Linked DNA regions of Homo sapiens: all the other regions are linked to region 3. The links are contacts of gene promoters, found by promoter capture Hi-C in blood cells and fetal thymus (Javierre and others, 2016). All regions are on one chromosome and are shown on one strand. The core of a region is centred on a gene start or on the middle of the fragment in contact, and the rest is flanking DNA. Distances in the headings are between cores, read along the strand shown.

The links. Contacts are between HindIII fragments. The CHiCAGO score rates a contact against its expected background, and 5 or more counts as called.
Region 1: a fragment that was not itself captured here is called in contact with the fragment with the promoter of PRKRA in region 3 in 3 of 17 cell types (fetal thymus, non-activated CD4 T cells and total CD4 T cells); the score reaches 9.2 in fetal thymus.
Region 2: a fragment that was not itself captured here is called in contact with the fragment with the promoter of PRKRA in region 3 in 1 of 17 cell types (fetal thymus); the score reaches 12.5 in fetal thymus.
Region 4: a contact is called between the fragment with the promoter of OLA1 here and the fragment with the promoter of PRKRA in region 3, in 1 of 17 cell types (total CD4 T cells). The highest score is 5.4, in total CD4 T cells.
Region 5: a contact is called between a fragment that was not itself captured here and the fragment with the promoter of PRKRA in region 3, in 1 of 17 cell types (total B cells). The highest score is 5.0, in total B cells.

Annotation. Positions count from the first base shown.
Region 1 is chr2:181,892,993-181,895,692 of GRCh38, reverse strand. The region is part of intron 2 of ITPRID2 (ITPR interacting domain containing 2); the gene reads right to left. Among named protein-coding and RNA genes, the nearest start is that of ITPRID2, 2.6 kb to the right of the region's middle. The HindIII fragment of the contact is 1,130 bases long and covers 686-1,815 here.
Region 2 is chr2:181,951,755-181,954,454 of GRCh38, reverse strand. No RefSeq gene overlaps it. Among named protein-coding and RNA genes, the nearest start is that of PPP1R1C, 33 kb to the left of the region's middle. The HindIII fragment of the contact is 1,660 bases long and covers 514-2,173 here.
Region 3 is chr2:178,449,732-178,452,431 of GRCh38, reverse strand. It overlaps PRKRA (protein activator of interferon induced protein kinase EIF2AK2), which reads left to right and starts at 1,257. Exons shown (of 8, transcript NM_003690.5): 1 at 1,257-1,466; 2 at 2,021-2,190. The coding sequence starts at 1,402. PJVK (pejvakin) reads right to left here and starts at 1,054. Exons shown (of 7, transcript NM_001042702.5): 1 at 663-1,054. RefSeq lists a silencer at 985-1,764 and an enhancer at 1,527-2,101. The HindIII fragment of the contact is 1,572 bases long and covers 825-2,396 here.
Region 4 is chr2:174,247,219-174,249,918 of GRCh38, reverse strand. OLA1 (Obg like ATPase 1) reads left to right here and starts at 1,387. Exons shown (of 11, transcript NM_013341.5): 1 at 1,387-1,467. RefSeq lists a silencer at 1,082-1,601. The HindIII fragment of the contact is 2,463 bases long and covers 1,015-2,700 here.
Region 5 is chr2:182,723,313-182,726,012 of GRCh38, reverse strand. The region is part of intron 5 of DNAJC10 (DnaJ heat shock protein family (Hsp40) member C10); the gene reads right to left. Among named protein-coding and RNA genes, the nearest start is that of DNAJC10, 8.4 kb to the right of the region's middle. The HindIII fragment of the contact is 1,402 bases long and covers 646-2,047 here.

The DNA.
Region 1 (2,700 bases), core at 1-2,500, 3.4 Mb before region 3:
TTCTCAACCCCTTCCATCAAAAAAGAAAACAGAATTAGAAGAAAACAAATCTTCAGTCATAGGTAACTTAACCTTAATAAAATTAAAAAGTGAAGAGTAGTTGGAAATGAGGCCCAATAGTTTCCTTAAACCTCATCTGTTAATCTATCACTAGCATTTCAGAGCATCACCTAATGCCTCCCCCTTGCCCCAACAACTATCTTTTTATGTAAATGTAGAAGCTTGAGATTCGCTTTGTTTTTAAGCTAAAAAATATATATATTCTTCATTTAACTTTGAAAATTACTAAAAAGTTGACTTGAGAATCAACATTAAGATTAGCCATTGCTAAAATTTTTTCATTCTTGTAGTTCAAATACAGATGAGAGAAATATCTTTTTTTCAAATACAAAAATAAACACTTTTAATTCTCTGAAACCAAGTTATAGTAAGAAACACATTGTTTTATATTGGAGGGTCTGTTTTGTGATGCACACCTTTCTTCAGTAACAATTTATAGCTGTTAAAAATTCACGAGACATGGGATCAATCATGAAAATATCAGTTTCAAGGAAATGTTACTGAAATGCCAATTAAAGGTTAAAACTTTCTACAAGTATACTAACAATGGCAGCTCTTTAAAACTTAGTGCTTTTGAAACGTAAAAGAATCACAAGCAATTACCATAAATATATTAATAAAAGCTTTAATCTATTTTTTGCATATATTTTAATAAAATTCTAATGTATGTCTTTAAAAAGTCATCCTTCCCTGATGGCTACTTTCTTGGATGTAAACATTGTATTACTCTGTCCACAGATGTCTCTACTGGTCTATGCACTAACAGAAAATGGTAGATAAGCAGAGTAACAGGAATCCTCCTTCGAAAACAAATATCTTACTTTTATAGTTGCTCCCTTCCAAATTCTATCAAAATCTCTACCATTTCTTAAATGTTAATTCAAGCAGTTTTTACTTAGTCCCCCCACAAATGGTTATCAAAATAAAGACTCCCTTTAAGGAAAGAAAACACGGTATCTTTATTCAGGATATGGACGGCACTAAGAAACAAAGACTATTTGAGAACTTATCAAGTGGGTAAAATGCTGTCTTCAGGTCATTTGTACATAATAAACAAAATACATAGATGCCCAACTCTGAGAAGGAACTTGAGTTGTTATTTAAAACAAAAATACAGATGCAACATATCCTAAGTCGAATCTGTGATAATATAGCCAAGATTAAAAGACTACTTGTTCTAGCTTTCCTGGATACAAATGAATGCCACTCTTGTGTAGAATAGGTGCAACTGTAGGAACAAGAAGGTAATCCATGAGAGAAGGAGCAGCAGACTACAGAATCTGCCCACATAAATCAGTATTGGCAACAAAACTTCTGAAATTGTCAGGGATTGACTGTGCCCTGGTGAATGTCAACATTTGCCTACTGCATTTGTCTCAAAAAAGATGCACTTATTTACTGTCTAATTGATAGGATCTCTTATACAATCTTAAATCCTATATGTCATTAAACTATAGTGTGATTCTTCTCTTGTTCTTAATTTTTAAAATTCTTTTGAATATGCACTTGAATTTAAACAATAAAACATTATAAATGTATTTGTAATGCTAAGCCTATTTTAAGAAACCTAAAGTAAGCCAATACTGTACTTAGGACTGTATTTAAATAAAGAGTCAGATTGGAGGCTTTAAAGGACTTAAGTAAAAGTTACAAAACAACTTCTCAAACACATTTCTAAGTGGAAACCTGAAAGATACTAGTTTTATCAGATCTCACCCAAAAGGTCTTGAACATGTACATTCAAAATTTCAAGCTTTTACATTATAGACTATTTTAGTATTTAACAATTAAATGAACCAATAGCACATTAATACAATTTCTTGATCCATACTTTGAGTGAAGTATCTAATATCTAAGGCTTATCTGAAAACTGGGAGATTGATTTACAGCTAGATTGTAAATCTGGGGTCCAAGGACTTCAAGCAGTGTATTTGCCTCTGTGCATCTTTAAACAGAAGTTATTCCATATATGTCATCATATTTCAGAAGGGTCTATGACACTTCCAATAAAGGGTACGAGTTCTGTAATAAAGAGTGTTCAATAAGGTTCCAGTCGATTCATCAAAACAAGGCATTAATATCATGGTAGCCAATATCTTGTCTGTCTTTAGAGGAGGCAAACTGGCATATGAATCACTTTCCACAACAAAACAAAACAAACTACCCTAACTCTAATATTTGAACAAAATATTAAGAAAATCTAAATTGAGAAAGCAAAAATATGCTCGAAAGCAAACACCAACAAAAGTTTAAAGGCTACATTCCTGATTTTACAACTAGCAAAGTGGAATAAGAAACAAGTACATTTTGCTGTAGTCAGATTTACGTGCAACATGATTCATCTCCTCTGTATTTTATCAAACATTTTTGTACCAGTTGCCAAAGCATGTAATTAAACAGATTTATGCAGTCTGAATGCTTTTAAAAGTTCTATTCCCTGAGAATTCCAGTGCCATCTGACAATTCCATGTTCAAGAAGTAAACTATAAGTACAAAGTTAGCTAGTTTTAATAGCTCCCCAAACAGAAACAAAATTAAAGCCCATTTAGTGTAGTTAGGTAAATTAAACTCGTCTAAAACACATTTGAAAGGAAAATGATTCCGTGCCAGTTGTACAGATGCCAAAACTAAAGCAAAACA
Region 2 (2,700 bases), core at 94-2,593, 3.5 Mb before region 3:
AGTAATTGGCATGATGTCCGACAGATGGCGCTGTGCTTTCCCTCGAAAATTTAAATTACTTCGCGGTGCTCTTAGACTTCACTGCTGGAGGGGGTCGGGGGAATGTATGTGGAGGTCGGGGTGGTGGGGTGGGGTGTGTGTGTGTGCGCGCGCGCGGGGTGTGTGTGTGTGTGTGTGTGTGTGTGTGTGTGGCGGGAGGCGGTTAGCGGGTAGTGGGGCGCGGGGGGAGGGGTCCCTGCCTGGCCACCTGAATTCAGTTTGTAAACCACAGCTGTAGATCACACATACATTAGGTGAAGTTTGCAGAAGAACTGGGCTTGGTAGAATTTGAAAACGGATGAAAGACATTCCATGGAGGTGCCTTTCTCTCATTTGAGAAACACCAGAAAGTTATCTGGTTCTAATAAAAAAGTCTATTGGTGTCCTTTAAATCTAATTACTATGGTGCTTGCCCCAATGAAGAGGGAAAAGAGCTGTCTCTTCTACTCACACATAGGAAGCCTTTGTCAAGCTTTAGCTATCTCCCTTCAGACAAAAGCCTCCAAAATTACAAAACCACTAAGTTGTTTTGTTTGACTTAATCTTTTCCTGTTTTGTTGTCTATGAATCCTTCTCCAACCCACACAGTCTTAAAGATAACAATATGAATAAAATTCATTTCTGCTTGCATCTGAATCACACCAAAAGAAATACACAGATTTTTGTACATACAGTAACTTTGTCTGGGACAGTCAGACTTATAAGAATAAATGAAATTTGTTTCCTGGAACATTGAAGAGATACCCAGAAGAAATAGGCAGTCTTCTGACCAACAGGTACTAAACTTTGCTAGTAAATCTGTGTGCTTGCCAGTTGGATGAGAGCAGTTGCATGTATTAGGATGCTCTGGACAGAAGAAATAATGGTTTTAAATGAATCTGCTGGTGAGAAGTTATAAGAGTAGAATCCTTATTTTTATTGGTTTGAAGTTACAAGAATAGAATCCTCGTTTTTGTGTGTTTGTTTGTTTTTGAGAGAGCCTCTCACCCTGTCACCCAGCCTGGAGTACAGTGGTGCGATCACAGCTCACTTCCGCCTTGACCTCCCAGGCTCAAGCAATCCCTCAAGCAATCCTCATGCCTCAGCCACCTGAGTAGCTGGGACTACAGGTGGGCAACACCACGCCTAGCTAAATTTTTAATTTTTTTGTAAAGACGGGGTCTTGCTATATTGACCAGGATGGTTTCAAATTCCTGGCCCCAAGCAATCCTCCTACCCCAGCCTCCCAAAGTGCTGGGATTACAAGCATGAGCCATCACACCTGGCAAGAGTAGAATCCTTTAAATTGCAGGTATTGATTTGCTGTGGAACTCTTTCTCCTGCAGGCAACTCCATGAGGCATGTATTTGGGAGAAGAACAGCAGGAATTTATTATTTATTTATTTATTTATTTATTTATTTATTTATTTATTATCAGTGATTAGTCTCCTAAGCCATACCAGGAATGCCAGAGAGTTTCTAATGAGAGTAAAAGACTTTGCTCAGAGATAAGTGCTTTTTTTCCAGAACTATAAGTGGAGTGTCTGCTAAGTGCCAGGCACTGTCTAGGTTAAGGGGAGGATCAGGGGCCATGTTAGGGGCTGAACTAGGATGACTCTTGCTGTCACTGAACTTAGCCTGGTGGTTAAGAACAACAGAGATTTTTACATCTCAGAGGAAACAAAGATATCAGGGAAATTCGCTTTACTCTCTTACCTTAATTTACTCTTTTTAAATGAGAGGGTTGGAATACATGATCTCTAAGCCCTAGTGCTCTGATTCTAGCACCATACAAAGTTCACTTCAAAGTCAGTGAAAGAGTTGCAGCAACATAAATAGACCTCAGGGTATAAACACTATGTAATCCAAAGGGAAAATAAAGATGACAGACTACATGTTTTAAAATAAACTCACTGTGGTTTTTAATTCTCATTTCCAACCTTGAGTTTTATGAGTATTGATTTCCTAAGAAAAGAAAGCCTACAACTGCTACCTTCCTTAAGTACCTTTATATTCATTTTAAATAAGGCCATTAAAAATTTCAGGCCTAGTATATATAACTTTCAGTTTAAATGTTCTCTTACCCTCACTTAAAGGACCTTTTTATGTAACTAAAATGTAAAGGTTTAATTTTGGACACATACAAAATTAAGCTTGACATCTACTGAGCATTTATAAGAATACCTTTTTTTGCTGTAAAGTCCTTCAAACAGTGATATAACATGTCATTGACAACACAATGGGGTGGGCAAACTGAGGAACAGAGACATGACATTTGTAATTTGCTTAAGGTCACACAGTTATTTTATAATTGTGTATCATATTCATCTTATTTTATTTATCCTCCACTGTGGTACTATGGAGTAATTTTTTTGCTCTACAGACAAGGAAATTGAGTTTCAGAAATAGTATATTCTTATAGTAGTAATGGATTTGAAACTAGGTCCACCTCTCTAAAAAATTCTTGCAGTTTTTCCCTATACCAAGTGAGATGTTAGCACATAATCTCTGCTTTCCAAATCATATGAAAAGTATATCTTCCTTTTTTTCTCAAAGAATAAGAGGCAGTTGCAGAAGAGGGAGTAAGGTAAAAAGTAAAGAATTACCATTCTATTGCCCCACAGTGTTTCCAGACTTCTCTTTCCCTAACCCTTCCTCGACCTTATACGTATCCAGATTAGA
Region 3 (2,700 bases), core at 8-2,507:
AGGAAGAGAGAATAGGCTCTAATTAAAGCATCAGATGATATAATTTGATTAGATTCTGAACATCTTTCACTTGTTTCAAGCATCCAGGGCTTACATGCTAACAAAACAACAAATCGCTTTTTTTTTTTTTTTTTTTTTTGAGAGGGAGTCTGACTCTGTCGCCCAGGCTGGAGTGCAGTGGCGCGATCTCGGCTCACTGCAACATTTGCCTCCCGGGTTCAAGCGATTCTCCTGCTTTAGCCTCCCGAGTAGCTGGGATTACAGGCGCATGCCACCACGCCCGGCTAATTTTTGTATTTTTAGTAGAGACAGGGTTTCACCATGTTGGCCAGGCTGGTCTCGAACTGCTTACTTCAGGCGATCCGCCAGCCTCGGCCTCCTAAAGTGCTGGGATTACAGGCGTGAGCCACCGCGCCCGCCCATAAATCACTTTTAATAATATCCTTTCGTACGAATAGCATTGTGCAAGCAATCTTCCATAACACCGAGTAAGCACAGGGGAGCATTTCTGCTAGTGCCTAGCAAGCCCCTGGAGAAGCGACACGTCATCTAATGGCCCACCAAAGGTGCTGCATCCCAGGCAAACGCCATTACAACCGACTACCCAGGTCCCCGGAAAGGCCTTCGTTTACTCCTAACGTGTTTTGCTGGGATGCACTGACCCAGCGTTCCATCTCGCGACGAAAGCCCAGAAGACAAAGGAGCCCGCCCGGCGGGAGAGGAGCGGGTGTTTGGACGTCCCCGCGTGTTCCTAAACACAGGGCTCGGGGACCCGAAGAGCGCACCGCAGCCCCCTGGAGCGTATATATCCGGGGTCTCAAGCTTCAGGACCAGGCCCGGGAGACTCCCTGGAATTCTGCCTTCGTAATTTTAGAATCTTTTTCTTAAAGTGACCCAGCCCCCAATCCGTCCTCCCCACAAAGGCTTAACTTTAGGCCTCAACGACCCTAGACCCACGCCGGACAATCCCTCTAATCCCTCTCTCCCGGCAAGAAACGGCCTCCTGCTAAGGACAAAGAACTGCGGCCTAGGGGCCAGTTACTACAGGCTGGTCAGGGCCGGCAGGGGCGGGCGCGGAGAACCCCCGGGAGCCCAATGCCTGTGCCCACGCGGGAGCGGGGCGGAGCCGGGCGGGAAGGGGGCGGACCCTGGAAGGGACAGGGGCGGAGTTGGGCCGGGACGGAGGCCCGCAGAGGAGCAGCGAGGGGGCGTAGCCGGAGCTACGGCACCAAGGCTCCGCCCCCACCCTGCCTGCCCCCTCGCTGGAGCAACGCAAGCAGGAGGCGGGGGAGTCGGAGGAGGTGGCGGCGCTGGAGCTCCTCCCGGGGACCAGCGACCCGGGGAGCGAGCACGTCGCTCCGCACCGCTCTTCCTCCAGCCGCTGAGCCGTCCCTTCTCGCCATGTCCCAGAGCAGGCACCGCGCCGAGGCCCCGCCGCTGGAGCGCGAGGACAGTGGGACCTTCAGGTCAGCGTGCGGGCAGTCAGGGCCCCAGGGCCGGGAGCGTTGGGCGGCAGGGCCGGGGCGCGGGGAGCCGGCCCTCCAGAGGCATTCTGGGTAAAGCCGTGCCCGGCGCCCACGCCTCCGCGGCTGTGGGTGCTCGGCCCCGCCCTCTCGGCGGCGAGGGTTGGGGTCTGCGGCCGGGCCCCGCCCCTCTCGTGGTCCCTGGCGGCGCGCGGGGCGGGCGGAGGTGACGCTCGGTCGGCGCGCCCGGGAAGGGATCGTCAGGTTTTCCCTGAGAGGCTGCGGCGCTGCTGCCAGCCCTGTTCTGTTGAGAATCTCTCCTACCCGCATTCAAGTGCTCTCTCTAAAGACCTCGCTCACCCCGCCTGCTCCTGCGGAGTGACTGCCGCAGCGGGGCCGGAAGACAGGTGCGCCCCAGCCTCGCCAGCTCTGGCCCTGGCCTCCGGGGAACTCGGCGCCTCCCTCGTCACCGTCGGTGGCGGTTAAAACTGGCCTCTACGCTTCTGCTTCAATCTCCAATTTGGCATGCAAAGCACACCTTTTTGTGGTTTTTGCAGTTTGGGGAAGATGATAACAGCTAAGCCAGGGAAAACACCGATTCAGGTATTACACGAATACGGCATGAAGACCAAGAACATCCCAGTTTATGAATGTGAAAGATCTGATGTGCAAATACACGTGCCCACTTTCACCTTCAGAGTAACCGTTGGTGACATAACCTGCACAGGTCTGTATACACAGTTAACCTGGATGACCGAGTGGGTTGGCAGTCAATACTTGGTGTTGCTTTTCAGTTCGGAAAAGTTCTCTTTTTGCCAGACAGCTGTGAGGAACAGGCTCTGAAACTGAGACCTCTCATCTCAGGTCGTTAGGGCTTTTCAGCTGCATCTGATTCTCTTCCTAATTTTCTCTTCCCCACATACCAAGGAAGCTTAGAAACTAAAAAGTTACCCAGCCGGATGGCTGGATCCTGCATGGCTCTTCTCATACCCTAGGATCCTCCTAGGGTTCTTCTTAGAATTAGAGGGAAGCAGGAAAGGTTCTTGGAGCAGTCATAGCTGGGTCAGTAGGTACTGTGAAGTTTCATAGATTATAGCGGATGCCAGGAGGCATGACCCCAGAATTTTCTGAGCGTCTCTCCTCTCTGTATGGACTCATTTGGCACTTTAGGTCCATTGTGCTACTTTTGATTCTGTATCCAAACAAAATGAGGAAGGGGAGAAGGTCCTCATATATT
Region 4 (2,700 bases), core at 138-2,637, 4.2 Mb after region 3:
GGTATGTGCCACTACACCCAGCTAATTTTTGTTTTTTGGTAGAGATGGGGTCTCACCACGTTGTCCAGGCTGTTCTCCAACTCCTAGGCTCAACTGATCCCCCTATCTTGGCCTCCCAAAGTGCTGGGATTACGGCCAGATTTTCAGTTAGATTGTGGTTTGAAATATGCTGCTGCCATTTACTAGTTGTGTGACTTCATCCAAATTAATCAACCTTTCTGATATTGTTTCCTCACTTGTAAAATGGGGATGGCGACCTATTTACATCCTTTAATATTAATAGCAACTAATCCCTTTAAAAGGAGCTTCTAGTGTCACAATTTTTGGACAGGTATCATATTCATTACAACAAATACCTGAATGACATCTGAAGGCCAGGACCTAAATGAAAGAATTCCTTCTCCAGTGGCGCTCATGGTATTGATATGATGTGGGTGAGATGGGATGAAATCCTAATATTAACAACAGCGACTACTCACAAGCCTTTTCTGTATGTGCTGAGTACTGTTGTTATGAGCTCAACACGCATTGTCTCATTTTATTCTCACACGAATAACCTCATAAGGTGGTTTTAATAGCCTCATTTTATCCAGAACGAAATTGAAGTCCAGAGAAGTTAATTTGTCTAGGGTCATACAGTCAATGAGTGGCGAAATCCAGATTGGAAATTCCCAAATTTCAAAGGCCCCTGCTCTCAACTACCAAGAGGAAAAGGGGGGAAATTGGCTCAATTAAACGCATTCTGTGATCCAGTACCTGTGTGCGACGCTTTAACTATAAGGCGAGGAAGAAATCCCTAGACCAAAGTTTCCCTTAGCCCCTTTTCCTTCAAGAACTTTTAGTTAACAGCTTCTCTCCGCACAGACTGAGCGAATAAAGTTATAGAAAAGGGAGATGGGCTAGCGGCCACGCGGTCCTCGGGGCTGGTGTGGCTGTTTGCCTGACTTCAGACGCCCCGGATCTCCCGGAGGGAAGTCAGGGCCCAAGGCACTCCGCAGTCCAGCTGGGAAAGCTTGGGGCTGTAGGCCCGCGAGTGAACGTGAGCAGGTAACCCAGGCCGCGCAGCCAGACGGAAGCGGAGACCTAGAACCGAGAAGCCCACGTGCCGAAGCGGAAGACTAGAGCTCCCGGGAACGGCCTAGCCAGCGCCTTCCCCTCTCCAGCTCCCTGCCGCCGCGCGGCTCCTCCCACCCTGGGCTCCTCCCGCCCTACTCCCGCCTCCCCGGCCGGTTAGGCCAATGGGCGGGACGCGCGGGCAAGGCGGGGAGGGGCGGGGCCCATGGTCTGCGCGCAGGTGCCGCTCGGCGCCCGGCCCGCCCGTTCCGCCGCTGTCGCCGCCGTCGTGCGTGCCGCTCGGCGGAGGGGACGGGCCTGCGTTCTCTCCTCCTTCCTCCCCGCCTCCAGCTGCCGGCAGGACCTTTCTCTCGCTGCCGCTGGGACCCCGTGTCATCGCCCAGGCCGAGCACGGTGAGGCCCTCAGGGAGCCCGGGGGCGCGATCTCCGCCAGGTCTTCGGCGCCTGGGCTCATTGCCCTGAGGCTGGCGCGGGGCCCGGGCCCAGTGGCCAAGATGGGGCCAGGGCAGCGGGTGGCTTGGGGATGTGTGGATGAATGAGGCGCTGTCGGACTAGGCCGCGCGTCGGGAGATCGGCCTACGCCTCACGCGGGAAAGCCCTGGGGAAAGCCTTCTCCCGACGCCAGGACGCCCGGTGGCCCAGTCCGGAGAGGAGGATGGGGGGTGGGGCCCACTTTGGGTGGGCTGCCGGCCACCTCTCTGTAGGCCAGAGGACCCGACAGGCGCTGTTCCTGTATCTGTTCTTTGGAGGCCTGGGAGTTGGCCAGGAACAGGTGTCAGGACGCTGAGAAGGGAAATTCCTGGCCCTCGGGGTCAGGGATCAGAGGCTGGAATACTACTGCAAGGGCAGGGCCCCAGCGTGGTCCTAGGAGGTACAACTCTCAGCCAGAAGACTGGGACAGTTTTAGTTCCCAGCTTCTGAGACGTGAGCTTAGCGGTCTTTGTGATTTCACTTTGCAGTCCAAGGGTGGGAGTAATTCTGCACGCATGATTTGGAGACAGAACTAGTAAGGGACAGAGAAAGTTTCGACTTGTAAATAAAAAGGTTCCGTCGATTAATTTACCATTAGAAATAGTAACCATAATGTAGATTTTGGAGGTTGCTTATGAGGACTGATGAGCCGTACCTTCAGTGCCAAAGGTGGGAGGGACTTGGTGGAAGGACCCCAGTACCTGGTGGGTGTTCATCTATGTGAAAAATGGGGGTTGTGGGCGAATGGGAAAGATAAGATTCCAGATTATAGAGGAATGGTTTGGTGTGAAGGGTGACTTGGCTGCTGGTGGTTCCACAATGGAATTTTCTTTGACTGTCTTCTGTGTACTTGCTTCCAAATGCTTTCTTTCATATAACCATATATCAGGTTAAGATATAAAGTGTTTTGTGAGCAGTCTGGATGGAAGATTGGTAGCTAAACTCTAAGTTTATCTTTGATTCCTGGTGCCACAAATATTTTATTTATTTATTTATTTATTTAAGACAGAGCCTAGCTTTGTCGCTCAGGCAGAGCCCAGTGGCGTGATCTTGGCGCACCGCAACCTTCGCCTCCCGAGTTCAAGCAGTTCTCGAGCCTCAGCCTCCCGAGTAGCTGGAATTACAGGCTGCGCGCCTGATGGCCGGCTAATTTTT
Region 5 (2,700 bases), core at 97-2,596, 4.3 Mb before region 3:
CCATCAGAGGAATCACTACCTATGGCAGGTAGAGCCTTATGAAATGTATTTCTTAGATAATATGACTTGAAGTTGAAATTACTCCTTGATTTACGGGCTGCAGAATGGATATGGTGTTAGCAGGCATGAAAAAAAAGTCCCAGATAGCATCTTCTTCCAATGGAAGGCTGTCTCATTAACATTGAGAATTTGTTGTTTAGTATAGCCACCTTCATCAATGATCTTAGCTAGATCTTCTGGAAAACTTGCTGCAGCTTCTATGTCGGGACTTGCTGCTTCATCTTGTATTTTGATGTTATGGAGATGGCTGTTTTCTTTAAACCTCATGAACCAACCTTTTCTAGCTTCAAACTTTTTTCTGCAGCTTCTTCATCTCTCTAAGCCTCCATAAAATTGAAAAGAATTAGGGTCTTTCTCTGGTTAGGCTTTCGCTAAGGGGATGTTGTAGATAATTTGATCTACCCAGACCACTAAGACATTCTCTATGTTAGCAGTATGGCTGTTTTGTGTTATCATTAGTGTGTTCACTGGAGTAGCACGTTTACTTTCCATGAAGAACTTTTCCTTTGCATTTATAATTTAACTAGCAAAAGAGGTCTACCTTTTAGCCTGTCTTGGGTTTTGATATGCCTCCCTCACTAAGCTTAATCATTTCTAGCTTCTGATTTAAAATGAGAGATGTGCATCTCTTCCACTTCAACACTTAAGAGGTCACTGTAGTTATTAATTGGCTTAATTTCAGTAATGTTGTATCTCAGGGAGTAGGGAGGCCCAAGAAGTGGGAGAGAAAAGGGAGAAGGAAGAGGGAGCAGTCAGAATAGACACAAAAATTAAGTATGCCATCCTATGGGCACACTCCAAAATGATTACAATAGTAACATCAAAGATCACTGACTGTAGATCACTGTAACAGACAGAATAATAATGAAAAAGTTTGGATACCAAAATGTGAGAAAGAGACATGAAATGAGCACATGCTATTGGAAACACGTTCAGCTGATAGACTCGCTTGATGTAGGGTTGCTAAAAACCTTCAATTTGTTAAGGAAAAAAAAGTGCATTATCTATGAAGTGCAATAAATCAAAGTGTAATAAAATGAGGTACACCTGTACTTTGTCTTCATCGAGCACTTCTCATATTTGCCAAGTTCCCACTGATTGCTGAGTAATAAGAATAAAGTTAAAATATTTTAAATACTGTATCATCACAGCTCAATGGGATGTTGTGCCTAACAGTGACCCAGAATAGAATTATTACATTTCAAAATGCAACTTTCCACTTCTAAACTATACAACTACAGCTACTGTCTGTTAATATACATACAACTCCAGTTAACAGCTTCTATTAGCAAAGTAAAATGTAATTACTTTGCCTGTAAGGTACAGATTAACTTTTTCCCCACAGGTCTATCTTATACTTGAAATGTAGGTGAACACTGAGTCCTGTACCTGTTTCTAATTAGCCTGAATTAGTTGCACGTATTTAGAATACCATGCATGTTTTAATGTCTTACTGTAATTTCTGAAATTTTTATTTTAAAATATTAACTAATTTTAACATGGAATCATATGGAAATCCTTTAACCAAAAGCAGATTACCCTCGCCTTTTTATCTTGAATGTGAAAGCACATTTTTACAATGTTAAATTTTTTAAGTGAGTAAAATTTGTAATTTGCATCAGGTCATTTTACAGATAAAATATAAACTGCACTATTGGCTAGATATCACATGTTCAAATCTATAATTTTAGCAAGTATGTATTAATGTTTTGAATTGTTAAAAAAAAGTCAATCTTTTCAAATAAAGTGATTTTCCAAGGTAATGTCTTATTTAGGGCTTATATTAAATTTAATCCCCGCAATCCTTACTGTATTATGTAGGTCTCTTATTTTATTCTTTCAGAGTTTACAGTAGCTGTCAGAATTGATTAAACCTACTTAACCTATGCTGCATATAATAGAAGAGCTTAGAAGGCATTTGCTTGTTGACTTTCTAGAGAGCCAGAAATGATAACATCTGCTTAGCAGAAAAATGCCTGGGAAAGCTTCACTAGAGGGTCCTTCTCTATCACAACAATGCTCCTGCTCATTCCTCTCATCAAGCAAGGTTAATTATTTATGAATTATCTCTGAAGTTTTGTGGCTGCAATTTATCTTGAACTACCATTTGGGGTTCTATATGAACTATTAACAGTTCTTAAGCTTTTCTGCATAGTGACACATCTGAAAAAGTGTGAACCCATATACAATATAACTATCAGTGAAGTCTCATTCTAGGTAGACTCATGGATTAGTAAGCTTGCAAGTTTTGTTCAGTTCCTCTATCTGTAATTCCGATGTTTTCTGAACCATTGGTACACAAAACACTTACTGATATATTAGGAGATGAGAGACAATAAAAACCACACAGGAACAGCTATAGGTTTATATAACTCACACGAGAGTTATGATTCTACCAGCTTGTGACATGAGCATTAATTCTATTAACAATCCAAATGAATCAAATTGTCTTATTTGCAGAACACAGGAAAGATGTATTTTCTATTCACTTAGAACATGTTCAAGTGTTCACCTAGAAGGCTTTTAACAAAGTAACACATTGAACAGCTATTTTGTATGTGAAGCTCACCAGCATGATGTAGAAAATAAGATTAAAATGCCACCCTTGGCCAGATGTGGTGGCTCATGCCTGTAATCCTG